2 separate regions of the Homo sapiens genome follow, and region 1 is linked to region 2. Evidence: promoter capture Hi-C in 16 types of primary human blood cells and fetal thymus (Javierre and others, 2016). All regions are on one chromosome and are shown on one strand. Each heading gives the region's core, a stretch centred on a gene start or on the middle of the fragment in contact. The rest is flanking DNA. Distances are from core to core; before and after follow the strand shown.

Region 1 (6,198 bases), core at 1,819-4,318, 200 kb after region 2:
GGCACGCCCTTCCTCTTGCAGGAGGTTCTGAAGTTCCACCTGTTGCCCTTGGAAGGGAACTTGATGTTTCTGCCCCACAGCACACCTCCCCTGAAGTTCACACCCGGGGCGTGGGGGGCGTGTTTCCCCAGAGGCTCACATGCCTGGATGCTTGCTGGGGCCATGCCTAGGGGAGGAGCCGAGTCTGGGATCCGCAGAGGAGGACGTGCTTCTCTGAGCAAGGCCCCTCCATCTTGCCGTCTGTGGGATTCAGGTGCCTGTAGTTGGGGGACTCACCACAGGGTCCCCTTGGTGCCTCCTGGAGAACCAGAGGGGAGCCAGTGACGCAAAGCCTGGGATGCTGACTTAGGGTGTAGCCCTGGTGCCAGAGAGAAGCCTGGCTCATTTCTTCTGCACAGGGGCCGGGGTAGGGGCAGAGGAGTGCCAGGTGGGACATGTGGGGGCTTATTCCTTGCCAGCTGGTGCTCCAGCCCCACGCCAGAGTTTCAGGCCACAGCCTCTGTGGCCACCACAGGGGAGGGACAGCTCGTTGCAGGCGCAGGTCGGCTCTGCTCCTCATGAAACCTACGATGGCCTGGCCTCACCCAGCCTCCTTCTCTGTCTCCACCCCCTCTGGAGCAGGAGTCAAAGGAAGCACTACCAGAAATGCACCCAGCACTGTCCTAGGACAGCATTGTCATTGCTTGGGAAGGGCAGCTTGGGGTCTGTGTCAGGGTCCCCAAGACGGCGATTCTCCAGGAGGACACAGGCCACACAGGTTGTGGTATTCACAGCTGTGATTTCCCACAGGGAGGACACTGAGCAAAATCAACCAAGGGAAAGGTTCCTGGGGCCGAGTCCAGGGGCACCAGGCTCAGCTTTGGAGGCCTCTCCTGGGGTGGGGGTCACGCAGGACGCGCCTCACTCCTCTGCAAGCAGCTGGGACGCTGCGTGTGCGATGTTGGGGATGCCCTGCCCGGTGATGTACCCGGGGACTGGTCACGTGAGCAGCTTCTGCCTGGGCTACGCCAGAATTCCAGACTCCCAGCAGGGATGTGGGTGTTCGGCCTAAACCACATGGTACAAACAGCTCAGGCCCAGTGAGGCGGGGCCGGGGGGAGCCCCTCGGAAATCCCAGTTCCCAGACGCCAGCCAAGGGCCAGCCCGGCCAGCGGGCCTCAGGATGGCCGTCCCCGCCCACCGTGTGGACCCATTCTGCACACGGCCATGGGGTTTCCTTTCTGGAGCCAGGGGCTGGACACAACCCAGTTTCTGGGGAGGCCCCAAAGCAGCCCCACCCAGGGCAGGCGCTGCTGTTGGATCCCTCACCTCTCCCATCCCTCAGTCCTGCCTACCCCTCGGACATCCGTGTGGTGAGGCTGGTGCAGGGCTGCCAGGACGCCTGGGAAGGACAGGGACCTCGTGGCGTGGGAGCAGCCCAGGACCACCCGCGGGTGGGGGGCATCAGGCAGGGGTCTTTGGTTGTGAACAACAAGAATGAATTCCAGTTGTACTTTTTAGGAAAGGAGTTTATTAGAAGGGTCTGACCTGCTCCCGTGGTCAGGGAAGACAGAGAAAGAGGCCCAGGCCCACAGCAGGGGAGGAGCAGGGCTCGCCACTGAGCTGGGACAGTGACGAGAAACCCAGTTGGTACCTGTCTACCCTCATTTCTCCCCACACCGGGCTATGGCCTGGGAGCACCCGCTGGCCTTGCTGGGGTCACTGCCCACCTGTTGCTGGGGAAGCAGGGCTGGGTAATTGGGGGAAAGTCAAGACTTGGAGAAACAGCTGAGCTGCTTCTAGGAGGAGAAGCGCACACTGGATGGCCAGCTGACCACTGACGTCCACTGCAGGGCTTAGGAGCGGGATGTGGAGAGCCGTCAAGGGTAAAGAATCCAGGGGTGCAGGTGGCAGTGAGCACTCAGGCTTTGGATGATCTTAAGGAGATCACTCAGCAGCTGGACTTCTGGGTTGAGGTGGGGCCACAGCAGGCCGGGCGGGAGCATGCGGGGCGGCAAAGGAGAGACACACAGGAGGCTGGGCGGCAGCAGCTGGCCTGGCAGGAGGAGGTGGGGGCGCAGCAGGAGGGGACGGGCACGCAGCAGGCGGGCCTGCACACGGGGCGGCAGAGGAGGGACACGGAGGAGGAGGGTCTGCAGCAGGAGGTGGTGCAGCAAGCCGGCTGGCAGCTAGACTGCTGGCAGCATGAAGTGGAAGCCCCAGAGCAGACGGGCACACAGCACACAGGCTTACAGCAGACGGGCACGCAGCAGCCCTGCTGGCTTTGGGAGGAGGTGCAGCAAGCTGGCTGGCAGCATGAACCGGAATCATCAGAGCAGGTGGGCACACAGCAGACGGGCTTGCAGCAGACAGGCACACAGCAGGCCTGCTGGCAAGGGGAGGAGGTGCAGCAAGCCGGCTTGCAGCTAGACTGCTGGCAGCACGAGGGCGTGCAGGAGCTGATGCAGCCTGATTGGCAGGGGCTGGGCTCACAGACCGCCTGGCAGCAGGGACTGGACACACAGCTCACACAGCTAGACTGCTGGCAGCACGAAGAGGAAATCCCAGAGCAGACAGGCTTGCAGCAGATGGGCACACAGCAGGCCTGCTGGCAGGGGGAGGAGGTGCAGCAAGCTGACTGGCAGCTAGACTGCTGGCAGCATGAAGAATCCCCACTGCAGACAGGCACACAGTACACAGGCTTGCAGCAGACAGTCTTGCAGCAGACGGGCACGCAGCAGGCCTGCTGGCAGGGGGAGGAGGCACAGCAAGCCAGCTGGCAGCTAGACTGCTGGCAGCACGAGGGCGTGCAGGAGCTGGTGCAGCCTGATTGGCAGGGGCTGGGCTCACAGGTCACTCGGCAGCAGGGGCTGGACACATAGCTCACTGGGGTGCAGACCAGGCTCAGGCAGGGGGCCGGGGCGCAGCAGGGGGGCTCGCAGCAGCTCTCTGGGCAGTCGTCCACCTGCCAGGAGTCGGAGCAAGAGTCACAGGAACCAGGAAGGCAGACGCGGCTGCCGTAGCTCAGGTCGCTGGAGCAGACAGACATAGTGGACGCAGCCATGCTGGGGATTGAACTGGAGGAGATGGGAGTGAGTGGGTGAGTGAGTGAATGAGTGAGTGAGTCCGTGTGTTAGGTGCTCAGGGATGTTGGCTTTTATATGTCTCCCTGGTCTGTTGTCCCAGCTGGAGTGTCAACAACTCCTGCCCCTTCCTTGTTTGTGTTTAAAACCTAGAGAACGCTTATTAGTGCGAGTTTCATGTTTAGTCCTATGAGATGCCGTTCAGTTTGTAAAGTCCTGAGTCTATATTTGGTTCCGTTGACGCACCCTCACCTACCTTTGGCTCCAGAGCATAATATTGAAGTAGACAGGGTGTAATGTCTGCAAATAGAGTGTCCCAGGGGCCTGTGCTGGCTGCAGGAGAGATCCATCCATCCTAATCCCAGCGCCTGTGGGCCATCGCCAGGGGACTCTGCTTGTCTGGGTGGCTGTGGCTTCTGGAATGCCAGGCTAGAGAAGCCCCTGTCAATGATGGCATGAGGGTGGAACATTCCTAGAAGTGACTCCCCACACTCTCTCTGGTGCATAAAGTCCCCCCAAGGGCTTTAGAGCAAGTGGCAAACGGGAAAGGGTGGACAGTGGTGTGAGCCATTTCCCGTCAGGTTCACAGTAGTTCCTGGGGGGCCGTGCACCCCCTCTTCCATCTGGGCACTTAGGGAGGCCCCAGATCCCTGTTTGGGGCCCCCATTTCCATTTGGTTTTATCCCAAGCACTGCAAACCTGTAAGTCTAACCCAGAACACCTCCTCCGCAAAAAGCACAGCCACTCTCAACAGCACTGCCGTGTGAAAAGCAGCAAGCACTGCTTTCGCTTGCAGTGTGTTTTCTTGATTGCCAGCTAAGTCCTTGGTCACCCCAGCTAGACATCTGATCTAAGTCTCCATTTCTTCTGCAAATAATATCCAATTGGCCACCACATCTTTTTGGTTGTTTCTGCTAAATGTTTCCAATTGTATCCGATACTTTTACTTCTCAAGCATTCATTTATTCATGATGCAGTGAGTCCTCCCACATGCTGGAAATTGCACCAGGTGCTGAGAATGTGAAAGTGAAGGGGTAGTAACCCTGACTGTGGACCCCACCAGGGAGGGAGGTGGGCTGCTTGGTGCCTGGTGATGTCAGTGATGACCAGCCATAGCCCAGCATGCATGCGGCCCTGAGAAGTGGCCCCTACCCAGGGGAGAGGGCTCCAGGGGCCCTTCTGGTGGGGTTTGATGCCCAGGCAAGTCTCAGAGGCTCAGGGTGTCCTGTGTCTCTATCTGTGTTTCCCAGTCCAGGCCTCTTAACTCCTAGGGGATTTAGGAAAAGTACAAAAGGCCTCAGAGGGCTAGAAATTCAGTTACACGGTGGGATGAATTGTCTTTCTGTATATTTTGAACTATAAAAATAATATAAATTTGAGCATGGCCTGGTCCCTCCAGAGGTACAGGATCTGGTCCTATGGGATGGAAGGAGAGAGAGAGAGAGAGAGAGAGAGAGAGAGAGAGAGAAAATGGGGGCCTCTGCTTCCATATGGGACAAAGTAGCTATGTCAGACATATACTCCTGCTGAGAACAACTTGAAAAGCTGAACAAAATGTTTTAAAAATGATTCCTTTAAAGCTCTCCTAAAAGAGCTGTTGAAGAAACTAAAGGTAATAGAATGACATCTTTAAAGAGCTGAAAGAAAATCACTGCAAACCTAGAATTCTAGACCAGGAAGAACATTGTTCAAAGGTGAAATATGAAACAAAACAATTCTGGATAACAACTGAGCAAACTGAACACGAGCAGACCTACTCTACAGTAACTATGAAAGGGGATTTTTTTAGGCAGGATGACGGAAGGATAAAAATGCAGGAAGGAACCAGGAGGATCTGAAAGGGTAATATTATTATATTTATAATCTCTTGTGGGGTCTAAACTAGAAGTAGAAAAGTAATGCATGATGACATTAACAATAAAAGGTGAGAAGGATAAATGGAGTGAAAGTTTTCTAAGGTTTCAGCATTGTTTTGGAAGCGGCGGAAGTGCTGACATATGTTACACTTGAATAATCTAAGAATGTGTGCTATAATCTCTAAAGTGACCACGGAAGAGATAGTAAAAACTATGTATAATCAATGTATAATCAATAATGTTAGAAATAAGGCTCAGAGTCGTAAGGAAAAACGAGCACTGAGACAAAGGATTTCTCAGCAAAGCAAATGTATGTCTGTGCAGGAGGGTGTCTCCCATATGGCTGGTTGCCACGAGAGCACACAGAACAAAGGAGAGTAGAAGTTTTTATTCCTAACGTGATCCTGCCCCTGTGTCCTTTCCCCATTGGCTGGGATTGCGCCGCACAATTTAAACTAGACCCGATTGGCTAAACATTTAAACTTTCTTAGATAAAATGGATGCATAATGGGAGAGACGGGAGAGGAGGAAGGGGTCATCTACGGGAAACTAGAGAGCCAGTCTTTTCCTAAATACAGAACGGAATGCGAGCTGGTGCTGATAATGCTAGTGATGTTGCGGCATGCCTGGGCATGTAGTAAAGTCAGAAAGAAGAAAAGGAGAAGAAAGAGAGGGGGCGGGGGTACTAGGAATTAAAGAACAAAAGGTTGAGCAGCCTGTTTGAAGAGAAGCCTTGCCTTATCTCACGAATAATGAATAGAACAGAAGAGGGAAAATAAATAATAAAAAATACTTGATTAATCCAAAATAGACAGGAAGTGATTTTTAAAAGAAACGTTAAAAAATTGGGACAAATAGAAATTGTACAGTCAGATGGCAGATAGATATAAACTAAATCATCAGTCAATAAAGTATCAGATATTCCAATTAAAATATATTGTTGGTCTGAATAAAAAGTAGAAAACCTAACTACATGCTGCTTACAAGATACAGAGCCTGAATACAAGAGCATAGAGGCCATGTGCTGTGGCTCGCACCTGTAATCCCAGCACTGTGGGAGGCTGGGGCAGGCAGATCACCTGAGGTCAGGAGTTTGAGACCAGCCTGGCCAACGTGGTAAAGCCCTGTCTCTACTAAAAATACAAAATTAGCCGGGCATGGTGGTGGGCACCTGTAATCTCAGCTACTTGGGAGGCTGAGGCAGGAGAATCGCTTGAACCCAGGAGGTGGAAGTTGCAGTGAGCCGAGATCGCACCACTGCCCTCCAGCCTGGGCGACAA
Region 2 (6,731 bases), core at 782-3,281:
TGTTGAGGGGAGAGACTGCCATCTTGTTTCAGCAACTCATATTTCAAGTGACTTTTGTCACTTGAAGCTGAAGCTAATCCTGATAGAAGCTGTAAACCACATTTCTGAAAAATAATAATTGGAAAACATACAGTGTTCTGCAGTAAGATGTCTGAAAAAGATGGATAAAATTATGAAAACATCAAGCATATGTTGCAGTGAACATCACGGCATTGACAGTAATGCTTTATTGCCCACATCTCCCATAACTGGAAAAGGGGAGCTGCTCTCCTTTAGGAGCACTGGACAGACTGCCTTGGGGTGTGGGGTGCTGTCTGATTAGAGAGAGAGCAGCTCTTGAATGGGGGAGGAAACACCTCCACTGTGACTTTTTGCACATTGCATTTGCACAAATTACTCTCTGAAACAGTCTCAAAGGACCATGTCATTTTATAAAGCACTGTGGTCATTTGAAAAGATGGAGGTAGACTGAAATTTTGAATTTTGGGGAATTTTCCTACACTATGCATACTTGTGAAGTTTGTATTGTTAAATTTCATTTGATTTGACAAATCCGTGTTAAGAGTATACGATGTCCAGGTACAGAGGCTGCCCCAGAAACAAGACAGAAGTAGGCAGGGACCCATGGCTCTCATGGAACACGCTTTTGGTTAGAGGCAACAGATAAGGGTAATACATTTATAGCATGCCAGTAAGTTCTATAGTACGGTGTGTTGAGTAGGTGTTGCAGAGAAAAAGGTATGCGGTGAAGGCCGGGTGGTGACGGCCTAGGCCACACTGAAGAGGCAACATTTGAGCAAAGACTGAAAGAGCAGGTGGGAAGAGTCGGGGACAAGAGCCGCCAGAAAGTGTTTCCGGGGAGGGAAGAGTCAGGGACTCTGAACCAGGCCAGGGCAGCTGGAGTGGAGTGAGAGGGAGGGAGGGTCTGGGAGTATGGCGGGGTGACCGGAGGCAGAGCAAAGCACTGCAGGACTTCAGCTTTACTGAGTGAAATGGGCGGAGCAGAGTGTGAATGTGATCAGACTTCTTTTCAAGGGATCATCTGCAATGCTGGAAAGGAAAAGACAAATGATAGATTATTGCAACAAACAGCCAGGCAAGAGATGCAAACTTTTTTTGCAAAGGTGTGTGTGTATATACATCCTTGCACCGGACAGCCACGAAGCACCTACTGTGCTGTGAAGTCAGTAAGGATGTGGGTTAAAATCGCTCACCTCACAGCGGGTCAATCGGGAAAGCACACCCACTCACTACAGCCATTATGGGAAAAAGGGCTCGCCCCTTACAGGATCCTCAACTGTGGAGAGGCCGGGAGCCCACGCGGGGCGCTGGGGAGTCTCTCAGCACCCCAGGGGTTCGGGCAGGGACCTGAGCCGCGCCCTCTCTCCCGGGGGTGCCCTGGGGTCGAGGCTGCTCGGCAGAGCCGGCGGTCAGTTCGAGCCGCGGGCCCGAACAGGGCTCTCCCCGCGGCTCTCTCCCTCGGAGTAGAAGGTGCTGGACCCGAACTCCAGCGGAGCCGCACAACACGTGGAGGAAAAGCGCCAGGACAGCTAACCTTCCCACCTTTTCAAACCTGAAACCCGGCCGGCTGGGGACGGTTGGAATGTTCAGTGCGTACCCGCACCTCAGGCCCCTTGTCTCCAGCCCCAGACCGCCCCGCGACCATCCTCCCCACCCCCCGACCTCTTATCTCGTCCCCGCCCTGTCTCCCCAACCTCCATCCTCCCCTCCACAACCCCCGTCCTCCCGCCCTTCGGCCACGCGCGGCTGGCACAGAACAGGCAGTTAGCGCACACACACTGGAACAGGCGCCACCGTTCAGGAAGTCTCTACAAGACCAGGACCCTGAGGCCTCTGGAAGTGCCGGGACCGAACCAACCCCGCAGAGCGACTAAGGCGAGGGCAGGAGCCAAGAGAATCGTAGCCGCGGTCGCGGGTTGAGCTCCCACCACCCGGACAGCGCGCCTCGGCGATCGCGCACGCGCCACGCCCCGGAAGAGTTCCTGGGCCCGCGACGGTGGCCCGGAAGCAGTCCCCGGTGTCGGGGCAGGAGGCACGCGCGCGGCTGAGGCGAGGTCGCTCGGCGCAGCTGTTGCGGGGCCATGGCGGGGACCGCGCTCAAGAGGCTGATGGCCGAGTACAAACGTGAGTCTGGGGACCCGGGCCGTCAGCAGCGTCCCGCGTTCCTGCTCCCGGGCCCGCGTCGTCCGGCGGGGCTGGGGCAGGGAGCCTGGCGGGGGAGCCGGGCCCGGGGCCTCCACCGTGAGCCCCCCTGTGGGTCCCGCGGAGTGCCGCGCCCTGCGCCCGCTGCCCACTCTCACGCGTGAAGTCGTGAAGAGAAGCCTTCCCAGCATCAGTAAAGGCAGCGCCGGCGCCGTGTTAGTTGAGAGCACACACAGTTGAGTCTTTGCGGGCTTGTTTTTTTCTCTTCTATTTTTTCTTTTCTTGGCAGCCTTGAGAACGTGCAGTGAGAGCTTGAGGAAGAAGGCCTGACTTGCTGCTGCGGAATTAGGAGGGAAAAGTGTATGCGTTAAAAGGGGAAAGGCTCGTTGGTGGAGCTTTGAAAGGTCAGATTTTGGCTTTCCCTCTAATGAAGGAAAAGGGTTTTTGAACAGTGCCACCTGTCACTCCTCCTAGGTAGTGTTGAGGAAACCTCTTGAGTGCTTTCCTACCCGGTAAATTAGATATTTCTAATGTCTGAGGAGAGCGAAGGGAGAAATGAGAACCTAGGAACACTCGGCATTCCATCGTTTTACACCGAATGCCCGCTTGGAAGAACTGCTGCGAGAAGTCTTGGAATACCATTGTGTTGAAAGCGCCAGGAGCCTGAGTCGCCGATGGAGACGAGATAGTAGCCGGCTAAGAGCAGGGCCTGAGTTCAGACCCGGCCTCTCTGCTTGTTAGCTCTTTGACCTTGTTCCTCTCTCTGTCTCTGCAGTTTCCTTGTCTTAAAAGGTTAAACTTGATACTGCAGGTGAAGTGCTTAGCAAAATACCTGATGTGTAACCCTTAATAAAGTTAGCTGCTGCTTTTGTAATTAGATTGAGGATAATTTTGGAAGAAAGTTAAGCTAAAAGAATGAATGTGAGAAAAAAAATAAGTGGTGAATATACATGTAGCTTGATTTCGTAAAACTATTGGTGACACCGCCCAGTAAGAGTTGATGTTTGGCTTAAGCAGACCAAAACGTTGCAAATACAGGCTCACTCACGTATGGTCATTCTTCCCTTGGTATCTGGAGGGGATTGGTTCCAGGCCCCGCTGCAGATACCAGAATCCTCGGATGCTCAAGTCCCTACTATAAGGTGGCGTGGTATTTGCATTTAATGTATGCATAGCCTCTCATAACTTTTAAATCATCTCAAGGTTACTTATAGTACCTAATGCAATGTAAGTGCTGCACAAATAGTTACACTGATTTTTTTTACTTGTATTTTTAAATCGTCATTTTTTATTGTTATTTTTTTCAAATATTTTGTATTCCTGGTTGGTCGAATCCATGGATATGCAGCCGCAGATACACAGGGCCTCCTGTAAACGTTCAAATAACGCTCGCCACCTAGTGTCTGCTAAAGCAGAACATAAAGGCACACCTCAGTTTCCCGCGCGCTTTGCTTTATTGAGCTTCACTTCGCAGATCTTGCATTTTTTACAAGTTTACAAGTTTTTTACAAGCAACCCTGCATGGAAGCAAGTCTGTTGGCACCATTTTTGCTCGCTTCGTGTCTCTCTCTTACATTTTAATCTATTACTGTGATCTATGATCAGTAATCTTTGATGTTACTATTGTAATTATTTTGGGGCATCACAAACTATGCCCATAAAAGATGGTAGTCCTAATAAATGTTGTGTGTGCTTCACTGACTGGCTGTTTCCCCATCTCTCTCCCGGCCTCTCTCTTCCCTGAGACAAAACAACATTGAAATTAGGCCAATAGTAACTGTACAGTGGGCTCAAGTGTTGAAGTGAAGAGTTGCACTCTACCCACTTCAAATCAAAAGCTAGAAATGATTAAGTTTAGTGAGGAAGGAATGTTGAAAGTCAAGATAGGCTGAAAGCTGGGTCTCTTGTTAGCCAAGTTGTGAATGCAAAGGAAAAGTTCTTAAAGGAAATTAGAAGTGCTGCTCTGTTGAACACAATGAATGATAAAGTGAAAAAGCCTTACTGCTGATATGGAGAAAGTTTTAGTGGTTTGGATAGAAGATCAAACCAGCCATAACATTCCTTTAAGCCAAAGCCTAATCCAGAGCAAGGTCCTAACTCTTCAGTTTTATGAAGGCTGAGAGCAGTGAGGAAGCTGCAGAAGAAAAATTGGGAGCTAACAGAGGTTGGTTCATGAGATTGAAGTAAATAACCTGTCTCCATAACAGAAAAGCACAAGGTGAAGCAGCAAGGTCTCCAGAAGATCTAGCTAAGATCAAGATGAAAGTGGCTCCTAAATTAAGCAATAGATTTACAAGGTACGTAAAATAGCCTTATACGGTATTGGGAGGAGATGATGCCATATACAACGTAAACAGCTAGAGAGAAGTCAATGACTGGCTTCAAAGGACAGGGCGACTCTTGTTAGGGGCTAATGTCGGTCACTTTAAGTTGACTGAGTTGAAGCCAGTTCTCATTTATCATTCAGAAAATCTTAGGGCCCTTAAAAATTATGCTAAATCTACTCTGAGCTCTAGAGATGGAAAAACAACCTGGATGACAGCACATCTGTGTACAGCATGGTTTACTGAATATAAGCCCACTGTTGAGACCTACTGCTCAGAAAAAAAGATTATCTTCAAAATACTATTCCTGACAGTGCACCTGGTCACTCAAGAGCTCTGATGGAGAGGTATAAGGAGATAAATGTTTTTGTGCCTGCTAACACAACACCAATTCTGCAGCCCATGGATCCGGGAGCACTTTTGACTTATTTAAGAAATACATTTCATAAGGCCATAGCTGCCATGAAAAGTGATTTCTTTGATGGATCTGGGCAAAGAAAATCAAAAGTCTTCTGGAAAGGATTTATCATTCTAGATGGCATTAAGAACATCTGTGATTCATGGGAGGTCACCATATCAACAACAGGCGTTTGAAAAAGTTGATTTCAATGCTCATGGATGACTTTAAGGGGAGGAAGCAACTGCAGGTGTGGTAGAAATGGCAAGGGAACTGGAATTAGAGGTGGAGCCTGAAGATGTCACTCAGTTGCTACAATCTCATGATCAAACTTGAACAGATGGGGAGTTGAGTCTTACAGATGAGCAAAGAAGTGATTCTTGAGATGGAATCTACTCCTGGTGAAAATGCTGTGAACATTGTTGAAATGACAAAAGATTGAGACTATTCCATAAATTTAGTTGATAAAGCAGCCGCAGGGTTTGAGGGTATTGACTCCAGTTTTGACTGAAGTTCCACTGTGGGTAAAGTGCTGTCAAACAACATCACAGACTACAGAGCAATCTTTTGTGAAAGTAAGAGTCAGTCCCTGTGGCAAACTTAATTGTTGTCTTATTTTCAGAAACTACCACAGCCACTCCTGCCTTCAGCAACTACCACCCTGATCAGTCAGCAGTCATCAATATCCGGGCAAGACTGCACCGGCAAAAAGATTATGACCTGCTGAAGGCTCATATGATTGTTAGCATTTTTTAGCAATAAAAATTAAGCATATTTTGGCAAATAATAATTATTTATTTATTTATTTTTTGAGACAGGGTCTTGCTCTGTCACCCAGGTTGGAGTGCAGTGGCACAACCACAGCTCATTGCAAGCCTTGACCTGGGCTCAAGCTATCCTTTCACTTAATCCACCTGAGTAGCTGAGACTACAGGCATGTGCCCCTACACCTGGCTGATTTTTCTGTCTTCATCTTGACCTCCCTCTATGTTGTCAGGGTTTGGCGAAAGTGACTCCATTTTGATTCTGACAATGTTCATACTCGAACAGAGGGTTGGATGTGGGGGACTATTACTTCTGTGTCCTCATGGGAAACCTGGCTGGTGGGTCAGATGTGTGAACACCTACCATTTCTTGGTATCCTGGTTTGTGTTTGTGTCTCTGTTTTAGTTTTATTTTAGCCCTATTTCTAGGGTTAGGCTAGACTGTGAGCAGGTATTTTCTCTTTTTTTTTTTTTTTTTTTTTTTTTTTGAGACGGAGTTTTGCTCTGTCGCCCAGGCTGGAGTGCAGTGGCGCAATCTTGACTCACTGCAGGCTCCGCCTCCCGGGTTCATGCCATTCTCCTGCCTCAGCCTCCCGTGTAGCTGGGACTACAGGCGCGCGCCACCATGCCCGGCTAATTTTTGTATTGTTAGTAGAGACGGGGTTTCACCGTGTTAGCCAGGATGGTCTCGATCTCCTGACCTCGTGATCCGCCAGCCTCGGCCTCCCAAAGTGCTGGGATTACAGGCGTGAGCCACCACGCCCGGCCTTCTCATTTTTATTGAGAAGAAAATCATTAAACCCCTGCATAGGAAATTAAGTTCAGGCTGCTGCTTCAGGCCAGTCTTTGCATTGTTGAACTTGCATTTTCTAAGGATATTTGCATTAGCAAAGATATGTTCTCCCTTTTATTGTCCTGACAGAAGCTTCATCTGTTATTTCAATTATATTGTCAATTAGTTTGCAGTAATAAGACCTAAATAATGGTTGATTTCCGAAGGTTTGTCACGGAAGTGTGTTGTGTGTTTTTACATGTTAACATGAAATTTTGGACTATGTGTAGAAGGTAGAACTCTAAACATAC

The links. Contacts are between HindIII fragments. The CHiCAGO score rates a contact against its expected background, and 5 or more counts as called.
Region 1: a contact is called between the fragment with the promoter of KRTAP10-7 here and the fragment with the promoter of UBE2G2 in region 2, in 2 of 17 cell types (total CD4 T cells and neutrophils). The highest score is 5.9, in total CD4 T cells.

What each region holds. Positions count from the first base shown.
Region 1 is chr21:44,597,467-44,603,664 of GRCh38, reverse strand. It overlaps KRTAP10-7 (keratin associated protein 10-7), which reads right to left and starts at 3,068. Exons shown (of 1, transcript NM_198689.3): 1 at 1,491-3,068. The coding sequence starts at 3,043. The coding sequence ends at 1,931. All of the region lies in intron 1 of TSPEAR (thrombospondin type laminin G domain and EAR repeats), which reads left to right. RefSeq lists enhancers at 1-719, 720-1,576, 1,675-2,434, 2,435-3,184, 3,945-4,701. The HindIII fragment of the contact is 9,535 bases long and covers 1-6,198 here.
Region 2 is chr21:44,797,120-44,803,850 of GRCh38, reverse strand. UBE2G2 (ubiquitin conjugating enzyme E2 G2) reads left to right here and starts at 2,031. Exons shown (of 6, transcript NM_003343.6): 1 at 2,031-2,145. The coding sequence starts at 2,103. LINC01424 (long intergenic non-protein coding RNA 1424) reads right to left here and starts at 1,610. Exons shown (of 2, transcript NR_109928.1): 1 at 1,215-1,610; 2 at 1-104. RefSeq lists silencers at 1,413-1,462, 1,963-2,182, 2,243-2,302 and an enhancer at 1,850-2,805. The HindIII fragment of the contact is 6,659 bases long and covers 1-6,575 here.